2 separate regions of the Homo sapiens genome follow, and region 2 is linked to region 1. The links are contacts of gene promoters, found by promoter capture Hi-C in human tissues and cell types (Jung and others, 2019). All regions are on one chromosome and are shown on one strand. The core of a region is centred on a gene start or on the middle of the fragment in contact, and the rest is flanking DNA. Distances in the headings are between cores, read along the strand shown. Region 1 holds the start of AKT3 (AKT serine/threonine kinase 3). Region 2 overlaps ADSS2 (adenylosuccinate synthase 2).

Region 1 (4,829 bases), core at 1,237-3,736:
ATTAAACCAGCACACAGTTCACACTCCAGTATTTGTTAAATATAATCTTATTTAAAATATTTTACAGCTATGAAATTAATTTTTAAAAAGTCCAAAGCAAAACCTTAAAGTACTCTGACATATACAATTTAGAGTCGATGTCAAGATTATTAAGCCAAAAATTAATTTTAAATTGGAAAACAATTCACTCCAGTAATAATTATGGAAAGAAAACCAAATGAATACAAATAATAATTTCACAATTTTTGCAGGATTACTTTGGACTATTTTTAAAACGCTGTAAGAAAACATGCTGCAAAACCACAATGCAAATACACAACTGAAAACTAAAACCCTACATTCATCTAAATTTCAACAGTCTCATTCATGTAATATTTGTCCTCCCTCACTTTAAAACTGGAACCTCAAGCCAATCAAAGATATTGGGGTCAACCCTAGTAAGGAAAACAAAAAGATCTTCAAGTACCATCTCCCTGTAAACTTTCAAGTACTATCTCCTTGGTAAACTTTCCAAGTCAAGATAATGTACTGGCAAAAGGAAAACAATTACAGTCCGGATATATATCTTGCATATAATTGTGCATTAAGTCATAAACCTTGGAAAACTAGTAACTTAGTAATAAGTTGCTATTTTAATTATAAAATATTTTCATGTTTTAGACAACCACCCCCGGAATGTTTGTATTCGTTTATACATATTTTGCAAGTGATACTCAAGTTCTGAAGACTAATCTTCATTTCCTACACCATCTTTATTAGACTCTTCCACCTTCGTTTTCCTAAGTAAATACATAACCTAAACCAATGAGTTTCACTCATTTGTCAGCTTCAACCACTGACAAAACCCAGTGGTTGCCTAGTGATGTATAGTTCTACTAAAAGACATATATGACCATGCTTTACCAAATACGGAACACATGTCTAAACTGTTGAGACAACTGCCAATGTATTAACTACAAAAAGCCATTATTTTTTACTTTAGCCTCAACTAAAATCAAAGTGTGAACACTTTATTATGGCTAGAAATTACCCAATATAGATGCATAGGTTTCACTGTTGACTTTCTATTTGGAAACTTCATCAATTGCAAACTACCAGGCTTTCAACCAAAATGCCACATTGGTGAAATGAGTTGGTTTTATTTTCATAACAACATTATTTTGATGGAAGAAATGTGAGCATCCCAGCTTTGACTTGTGGGTAAGCATTTCCTCTGCTTTCAGAACATAAACAGTAAATACCGGTATTGGAAAAACCTGGCCCCAACGAGATTCTTTATCTCTAGGCTAACTGTAGATTCCCGGGAAATCCCAAACAAGGGATGGTGACCCCGCCTCGGCGTCAGGGTCAACACAGCAACCAGCTAGGCTTCAACTTTGGGCTCTGAAGGGCCCCACCGGCATCATGGCTGATGCGGACCGATGCGCCGGAGGAGGTGGACAAGGAAGAGGCTGGTCTGTTTACTTGCAGCCAGAGCTGCCGCCGCCGCCAGCAGCGACAGCATCACTGGATCAGCCAAACCCAGCATCTTCCGCACATTTCTATTCTTAGCACACAACTCCCAAGCGGATCAAAACCCCACTACTATTAAAAACACAGACAAGCACGTTACCCACCTCCCACACACACACCCCCCCCCCCACCCCACCAGTGCCGTCTTTTCCTGCGCGCCAGTGGCGGGGAAGGGTGGGGGAAGGAAGGAGACCCCGGGGACGCCTGTGCATCCTCGCCTTCACCCCACCCCACGCGCAGACAGCCTCAGCGCCAGGGCGCGCGGCAGACGGCTCCCTCCCCCCAACCCAAACACACTGACACCGGCGCTCCACGCGTTATATAACCTCGCCGCCGCCCCCGGTCCAGGCGGGCGCCCCCTCCCCACGCCGCGCGGCCCGGGCGGGGAGGGGCGAGGGGAAGGAGCGAGAGTTGCGCAGACAGCAGGCGCCGGGCCGGGGCAGCCCAGACACAGACGGTACCGCTAGGCCGGGAACACCCCTCCCCCGGCCCGCTGCGCACCGCCGCCCCCCAGCTTTCCCCGGAAAGCGGGGGGTGTCGGTGTCAACCGCGCTGGGCATCCCCCGGCCTCCACACCCACACCCGAAGCCTCCGGTGACCCAGCCCCCGCCCACGCCCCCGGCGCGGTGACAACCCAGAAGCCCCCGCCTCACCCCACCCCGCCGCCATCCCCCGCCTGAGGGAGGCAGGGAGGGCGGACCGGGGCCCGGGGCCCGGAGGGAGTGGAGGCCAGGCGGGGAGGGGGCTAGAGTTGGGGGCGGTGGCTGTTACCTGCAACGGCGGCGGCGGCGGTGGCGGCCCCGCAGCTGCTCGGGCGGCGGCGGAGGATGGAGCCGGGGGGGGGCGGGGGGAGGAGAGGGGGCGACTCGGGGGTCCCCCCTCCCTCCTCCTCCCCTCCTGTCCTCCCCCCACCCCACAGAGCCTCTGGCCTCCTGGAGCCCGGTGCGGCCGGCGGGAGGGCAAGCGAAGGGCTGCAGGGGAGGGAGGGAGGGAGCCGGCCGGGCCGGGCCGCGGAGCTGGAGCGGGAGGCGGCGGCGGCGGCGGCGGCGGCGGGAGGGGGAGGGAGGAGAGAGGGCGGCGGCGGGGAGAGGAGGAGGCGGAGACTCTACATGGGAATCGGATATCGGCTACAAATTCATCACCAGAAAACACCGCTCGGGCGGGGGCCGGGTCACGCCGGCGGGGCGGCGGCTCTGGGCCCCGGGGCGCGCCCGGCGCGGGGAGGGGTTCTGCGGCCTCCTCCCGGGCTGCGCCTCGCTGAGGGGACCCCCCGCCGCCTCCCCGCCCCCTCCTTCCTCCCGCTCGGGGCCGCCGCCGATCGGTTCTCGCCGTCGCCGCGGGGCTTGTTGTTGACTTTGAGGAAAACTCCTGACGTCAGGGGCTGGCTCTCGGCGACTGGCGGGAGCGGCTTCCCCGCGTCCCCGGCCCTGCCCGCCGCCTCTGCTCCCCTCCCTGCCCGGCCCTCGTCCTCAGGCTTCCCCGCGCCCCCAAACCAGCGGTGCCCCGCGCCCCCTCTCCTCTCGCGAGAACATCCCCCTAGCCAGCCAGAGCCGGGAGCGGGGGCAGTCGCTCCCGGGCGGGAAGTTCTGGGTTTCCCCCTCGCCCGCGTGGCCCTTGGCGGGCACCCGAGGCCCGGGAGCGGAGGCTCCTCGCCCAGCCGCTTCCTCGGCGCATCCGCCCACCCGCCCTGGCCGCGGACGCGCGCGCCGCCAGGCCCCGGGCGTCTCCTCCAGTCCGCCGCGGCCCCTTGGGGAGATGGGCCCGGCGCGAGGGCTCGCACCTGGAAGCCCACGAAGTGGGCGGTGCCCAATGAGGTAGGGACCGGAGAGCGCGGAGCAGTCCAGAAGCCGACCCCACCCCCTGCACCTCGGGGAAGAGGGAACCCGGGTCAGCCCGTAGCAAGAATCATTCCTGACTATCCCAGGAGACCACGGCAGACCAAAAACACCTCTCTGAACAGCCTTCCGCACCGCTCGCTGCAAGCATTCGTCCACACACGGTACACAGATTGCGGGCGGATCGTAATTCACTCTTGAAATCACACCCTTTTTAGGGATATTCGTTTTCAATGACTTTGGGAAAGCCACGAGGTACTACATTTACTACGAAGAGACCGTTTCTTTATTTTGAAGTCAGTGACTCCTGAGACTGCATTGGGGACAACTTTTTTGCACAATGACCATATTTTACCATGCAGCGCACTTCAGAAAATTATAAAAGTTTACAAGTTTTATCGCTTCTGGAAACACCTGGGCAGCATCCCTATTATCCCGCCACGTGGCTCTAGCCTTGTTGATGTACCTGTTACTTTCTCCCACTGCAACATTTTTGTTAATGTCTGTGGCTTCTTTCTGCAGAAGAGTTCCTCCTCCTGACATGCACTTCATTCTCTGCTTTTCTATGTCTTGACAACTCTCTTATGGTAGTCATTTTCTTATACTGTAGCCCCCTGGTATTTATGTACTGTGTGGTATTAATATTTATACTTCCAGGTTCACATCTTTTATGAACTGTGCATCTGTTGGGATTGTGGACAGGAGTAGGAAACCAAATAAAAGGGTTTTTTAAAAAAGTCAGTTTTCTCCGTTTGTAAGGGAAACTTGTCTCCCTGACCACCCTGGAGCAAAATTTGCCATTTTAAGATAACACAGTCCGTCTGAGAGAAAGTCCTGCACCATGCCTTTCCCCTTTTCCCATATTTCCCAGCATGCTATGAGCTGATGAATAAACAGACTTTGTCCTATTTTCGTTGTATCTATAAAATATACATAATGTATTCCCATAATTATCAGACCTCTCACAGTCACTATTGGTAAAATTATTGGGTTACAGGTTTCTTGCTGTAAAACACAAAAATAGGTCATATTTTTATTCCATAGTACCCCAACTTGCTTTTTATTTTTAAGAAAATAGTCCCTTATGACACCAGCACTAAAAAGAGTGTCTGAAACTTTAAATACTTAACTTTTGAGAGTCAGAGTATCCGGAATTACTGAATTACTAGATATCTCTTATCAGTGAGATGTTCATTTGTTCCCAAATTTAACATCAATATATTTACAAGAACTGAATGTGTCTTATGAGCCATACTACCTCAAAATATTTCTCCCAGTCTGGTCAGATTGCATTAAATCTTAGGTGGATTAAACCCTAAAATTCAGTATGTGAGAATGGATTATATACTCTCGGCTTCATGTATTTGAAGAATTATAAGTTTTTATTTCTGTTCAATTTTTGCTTGTGGACTATAGTAGTTTCATAAGTTTCCATAATAAAAGCATGTTTGATTTTGTTATTGAATTACTATTGATTAGGGA
Region 2 (5,145 bases), core at 1,017-3,516, 580 kb after region 1:
ACCACATTACTTTCCTTTTACTCTAGGCCTTTTGACCCCTTCCCATTACTACTTTGTTGTTTTGTTTTGGTGGTCTAAAGTAATTAAGTAACTTGCTTAACCTCTATGTTGTACCAAGGATGGAACTGTTAAGTGACAGACCCAAAGCAATTGCAATGAAGAAGGAAGATGGAGAATCCAGACAGGAACAGGGATATGTCTCTTAACACTAACCTCTTTCCAACAGGCTGATATCATCAGCGTATATTTATATCTGCACATAGCCCAATTATCTGATTATATACACTGATGCTATACGTTATTCAAACGGCAGGTGTTAGGGATTATTCTGTTTTGCAATCCTAAATTGCGGTATGCTGATTAAGATACTGAATTTCACAGAGCAGACAACATAACAAAAAGCCATTGGAAAGTTCTGAAGATAAGCAGTGGTTTTCATTATCTAATGCAGCGCCTTGCTTTATCCACAACAGGAACAATGGATACCAAAAAGCTACACATAAAATCATGAAGGTAAAAGAAGATAAAGATGACTATTGGTAACAGAATAAATAAAGCTAATGAGTAGTAAGTGTAAGCAAACAAAAATGCTACAAAAGTACTTCACAAAAACATATTTTTCCTTATATAACTAGGAGACTGCCAGTAAGAAAGAATATTAGTTGGGCCGGATGCAGTGGCTCACGCCTGTAATCCCAGCACTTTGGGCGGCCAAGGTAGGCAGGTCACCTAAGGTCAGGAGTTCAAGACCAGCCTGACCAACAAGTGAAACCCTGTCTCCACTAAAAATACAAAAATTAGCTGGGCATGGTAGCACACCTGTAATCCCAGATACTCAGGAGGCTGAGGCAGAAGAATCACTTGAACCCGGGAGGCAGAGGTTGCAGTGAGCTGAGATCACCCCACTGCACTCCAGCCTGGGTGACAAAGTGAGACTCTGTCTAAAAAAAAAAGAATATTAGTAATACTCTATTGCTTCCTATATTATAGCACAATAGTGATATATAAGTTTAAAATTCAAGTTCTAAGATAAGCTAACAAACAAAATATAAATATTTTTAAAATCAGAAGCTTAAAATAGGCAACAAAAATGACAACCTCCTTCTTCTGAAAACCAAAACAAAACCCTTTTGTCCTTATCCAAATTGCATGTTATCATTTGGGACTGCAAAGCTTCTTTGTTTCCTTTGTTTTTTGTCTTGGTTATGCATCTATGCCATTAATAATTCTGGAAATAAGGTGTCTTTTAAATAAAAGTTTTACTGATAATATTTTCATAGTTTAAGTATAATCAGGTGAAATATAAACTACTCACAAGCTTACTTTATGTTAAATACAGAAGTATTCCACATTTTATCCACTTACACTAACAAACAGCTATCAAAGTCTTTGTTTTCAAGGATAACCAGTCTACTAATAGACAACATACAGGACAACAAATATTAACATAAAACTGTTTTTCAGTAAAAACAAAAAATTGTTCTTTTCAGACTTTACAGATTAAGAAGCCTGTGGCAAACAATGTAATGAAGAGGCCAGTTTCATATAGAAACTGTATGTTAATCCAATAGAGTTTACTTCAAATAAGTTATTTTATTGGGTTACTAAGATTATACATAGGATTCAAGTCTGTGGCTGTTATCTGGAGGGACCGTTATTTGATTTCTGTGCTTGGCTGAGAAATACTGTAAGTATCTTGATGAGGCTGCCTTTTAAATAGAGGCCAGTGTTAAAACTAGAGCAGCTACTGCCACAGGACACACGCATACTTAAATACAATTTAAGAGTGCAGATCAATCACAGAGAAGTTTCCTACGTGGTTTTTACTTATTTCTTTTCTGGTTATTGTCTCTTAAATCATGTCACTGCTAATTAACAACTCCATTGGTTCTGAAAGAGAAAAATAACAGAGAAGAAAATCCCAAATTTATTGGTAGTGGTTGAAATTTAGGTTAGTCTGAATAAAATCTGAATCACTTAAAAAGCAATAACTACTACATTTTAGGCACAAAGAGTCACTCTATCTGCAAAACGGTACACTTACTTTTACAAGAATATTACGTATACAAATAAATGTTCTTTGCATTTTGATATGGCTTATTTTTAAATAGAATTAGAGATGTCTTATGAAATACTGCTTGTATTATAAATTTGCTTAGCTAACCTTTTTTTCAAACAGGTAAATTTCAGCCTAGACTGTTAAAAAAGAAAAAAATTAGTAAGTATTTTTTGTATTTAGAACTCAATTACTACAATCCATCCTACTTACGCTAAATAAAAATAAAAGACAAAATTAGTTACTAAATACTTTCATTTGATAAATTTCAGATAAAAAGATAGTTACAAATAAATGCAATATATCCACCTTACCAATATGAGCTCTGTCAGATATAATAAGCCTTTTTTCCCAGCCTTCTAGTCCTAGAAAGGGGAAAAAGATATATTTAATTGAATATTTTGTATAGCAGTTTTAAAATCTTAATTTCTTTTTTTTTTTTTTTTTTTTTGAGACAGAGTCTCGCTCTGTCACCCAGGCTGGAGTGCAGTGGTGTGATCTCGGCTCACTGCAAGCTCCACCTCCCGGGTTCACTGCCATTCTCCTGCCTCAGCCTCCCAAGTAGTTGGGACTACAGGCACCCGCCACCACACCTGGCTAATTTTTTTTTTGTAATTTTAGTAGAGACTGGGTTTCACCGTGTTAGCCAGGATGGTCTCGATCTCCTGACCTTGTGATCCACCCACCTCAGCCTAAGATCTTAATTTCTTTAGAAATATGTCTAGGCCAGGCGTGGTGGCTAACACCTGTAATCCCAACACTGTGGGAGGCCAAGGCAGGTGGATCACTTGAGGCCAGGGGTTCGAGACCAGCCTGGTCAACATGGTAAAACCCCGTCTCTACTAAAAATACGAAATTAGCTGGGTGTGGTGGTGGGTGCATCTAATCCCAGCTACTCGGGTAGCTGTGGCACGAGAATCACTTGAACCCAGGAGGCAGAGGTTGCAGTAAGCCAAGATTGTGCCACTACACTCCAGTGTATGTGGCGGAGCGAGATGCTGTCTCACAAAAAAGGAAACACAATCTCTAAAAGTGTTTTTACTGAAGCAATCAAGTTTGTATCTTTTCTTCTGTATAGGAAACATCATGTCTAACAAGAGTTTTCTCACATGTCATTCATTCCATACATAAATTCACTCACATGCTATCTTTCCAAATGTCTTGCTCTAAAAGCTCCAAATTCAAACCAGTCACATCCAAATAAAATACTTCTAGGAATCCAAAAGGCAAATGGTAGAAAAACATCATGCTGGGGAGGTTAGGTACCTGGCAGGGAGAAATTTGCCAGAAGGGAGTTAATTTTAGGAATGGCATCCTTTCCCAAAAGATAGTTATAACAAATATGGGCTGGGTGCGGTGGCTTACGCCTGTAATCCCAGCACTTTGGGAGGCCAAGGCGGGCGGATCACCTGAGGTCAGGAGATCGAGACCATCCTGACCAACATGGTGAAACCCCGTCTTTACTAAAAATACAAAAATTAGCTGGGTACGTGATGGCGGGCGCCTGTAATCCCAGCTACTCGGGAGGCTGAGGCAGGAGAATCACTTGAACCCGGGAGGCGGAGACTGCAGTGAGCCAAGATTGTGCCACTGCACTCCAGCCTGGCAACAGAGCAAGACTCCATCTTTAAAAAAAAAAAAAAAAAAAAAAAAGGTAAAGAAAATAAACTTTTTCATTAATTCTTCTAAAGTACTACTGTCAATTACTGTACTTACTACAGTGAATTGTGAGGTATATCTGTCCCCCCATTTAACTGTGGAAGACCTAGAGGAGGGGCTGTGAGCTTTCATAGCACAGGGCCTGTTATCCAGTAAGTGGTTTTAAAAATTACTTTTGGCTGAGAGCAGTGGCCTATAATCCTAGCACTTTGGGTGACCAAGGCAGGAGGATTGCTTGAGGCCTGGAGTTTGAGACCAGCCTGGGTGACACAGAAAGACCCCATCTCTACAAAAAAAAAAAAAAAAAATTAAAAAACCTAGTCAGGCATGGTGGCATGTGCCTACAGTCCCAGCTACTCGGGAGGCCGAAGCAGGAGGACTGCTTGAGCCCAGAAGGTAGAGGCTCACTACTGTGTTCACACCACTGCACTCCAGCATAGACGACAGAGCAAGACCATGTCTCCAAAAAAAAAAAAAGACGCTTGAATGAACAAATGAACCCAAATCGATGTTTTTCTTTAAAGACAATACTAAAGACAAATTGCTAAGCTGCAAACATTTCAAAACTAATCTTTAACAATGAAAAATTTGTTTTTCCCTGAAGATTTATTTTTAAAATATATTCCTTATAGATTAAGGAAGAGAACCTCCTCGGTAATGTGCTAAAAGGTAAACCTGGAATATTAAGCCTCCCCTTCTACGGTTGTTTTGACATACAAACATGTATTCTGAAGTTAGTTTAGGAGATATAATAAAGAAAATAGGACCAAGAAATTCAGTAAAGTAGATAAAGAGCAGGGTTGGATAGGCTAGAAGGAAAAAGGGAGTAGGACAAACTTATTAAAGGAGATGAGAGCAGAGAGCAGCATCAATATAAAAATCACAGACTAGGTCACAGGTAAAAACGCAGAAAGGAGAAAAGAGATGGTAGCAAAGACAGGGTTCTGTAGTGGTTAAGAACACCTGAAGACAGATTGCTACTTTTAAACCTGAACAGGGCGGGGCGCGGTGGCTCACATCTGTAATCCCAGCACCTTGGGAGGCCGAGGCAGGTGGATCACGAAGTCAGGAGTTTGAGACCATCCTGGCTAACACGGTGAAACCCCTTCTCTACTAAAAATACAAAAAATTAGCTGGGCATGGTGGCACGTGCCTATCGTCCCAGCTACTCAGAAAGCTGAGGCAGGAGAATCACTTGGACCCACGAAGCAGAAGGTGCAGTGAGCCAAGATCACGCCACTGCACTGCAGCCTGGGTGACAGAGAGAGACTCCGTCTCCAAAAAAAAAAAAAAAAAAAAAAAAAAAAACAAACCTGAACATACTATAACAGTAATTGAGTGTTTTAAATGTGAGCTAATTCAAGGGGAAACTAACTATACTAATGATTTTCCTCAATTATGTATTACAGGTTGAGTCTCCTTTATTCCAA

Evidence for each region. The method cuts DNA at HindIII sites, captures the fragments that hold promoters and counts their contacts. A contact is called where the count stands out against the background at its distance.
Region 2: a contact is called between a fragment that was not itself captured here and the fragment with the promoter of AKT3 in region 1, in 1 of the 25 tissues and cell types used here (hippocampus).

The regions. Positions count from the first base shown.
Region 1 is chr1:243,847,757-243,852,585 of GRCh38, forward strand. AKT3 (AKT serine/threonine kinase 3) reads right to left here and starts at 2,487. Exons shown (of 14, transcript NM_005465.7): 1 at 2,284-2,487. RefSeq lists an enhancer at 1,396-1,896. The HindIII fragment of the contact is 14,855 bases long and covers 1-4,829 here.
Region 2 is chr1:244,430,175-244,435,319 of GRCh38, forward strand. It overlaps ADSS2 (adenylosuccinate synthase 2), which reads right to left. Exons shown (of 13, transcript NM_001126.5): 4 at 2,371-2,421. Among named protein-coding and RNA genes, the nearest start is that of ADSS2, 19 kb to the right of the region's middle. The HindIII fragment of the contact is 5,061 bases long and covers 1-4,797 here.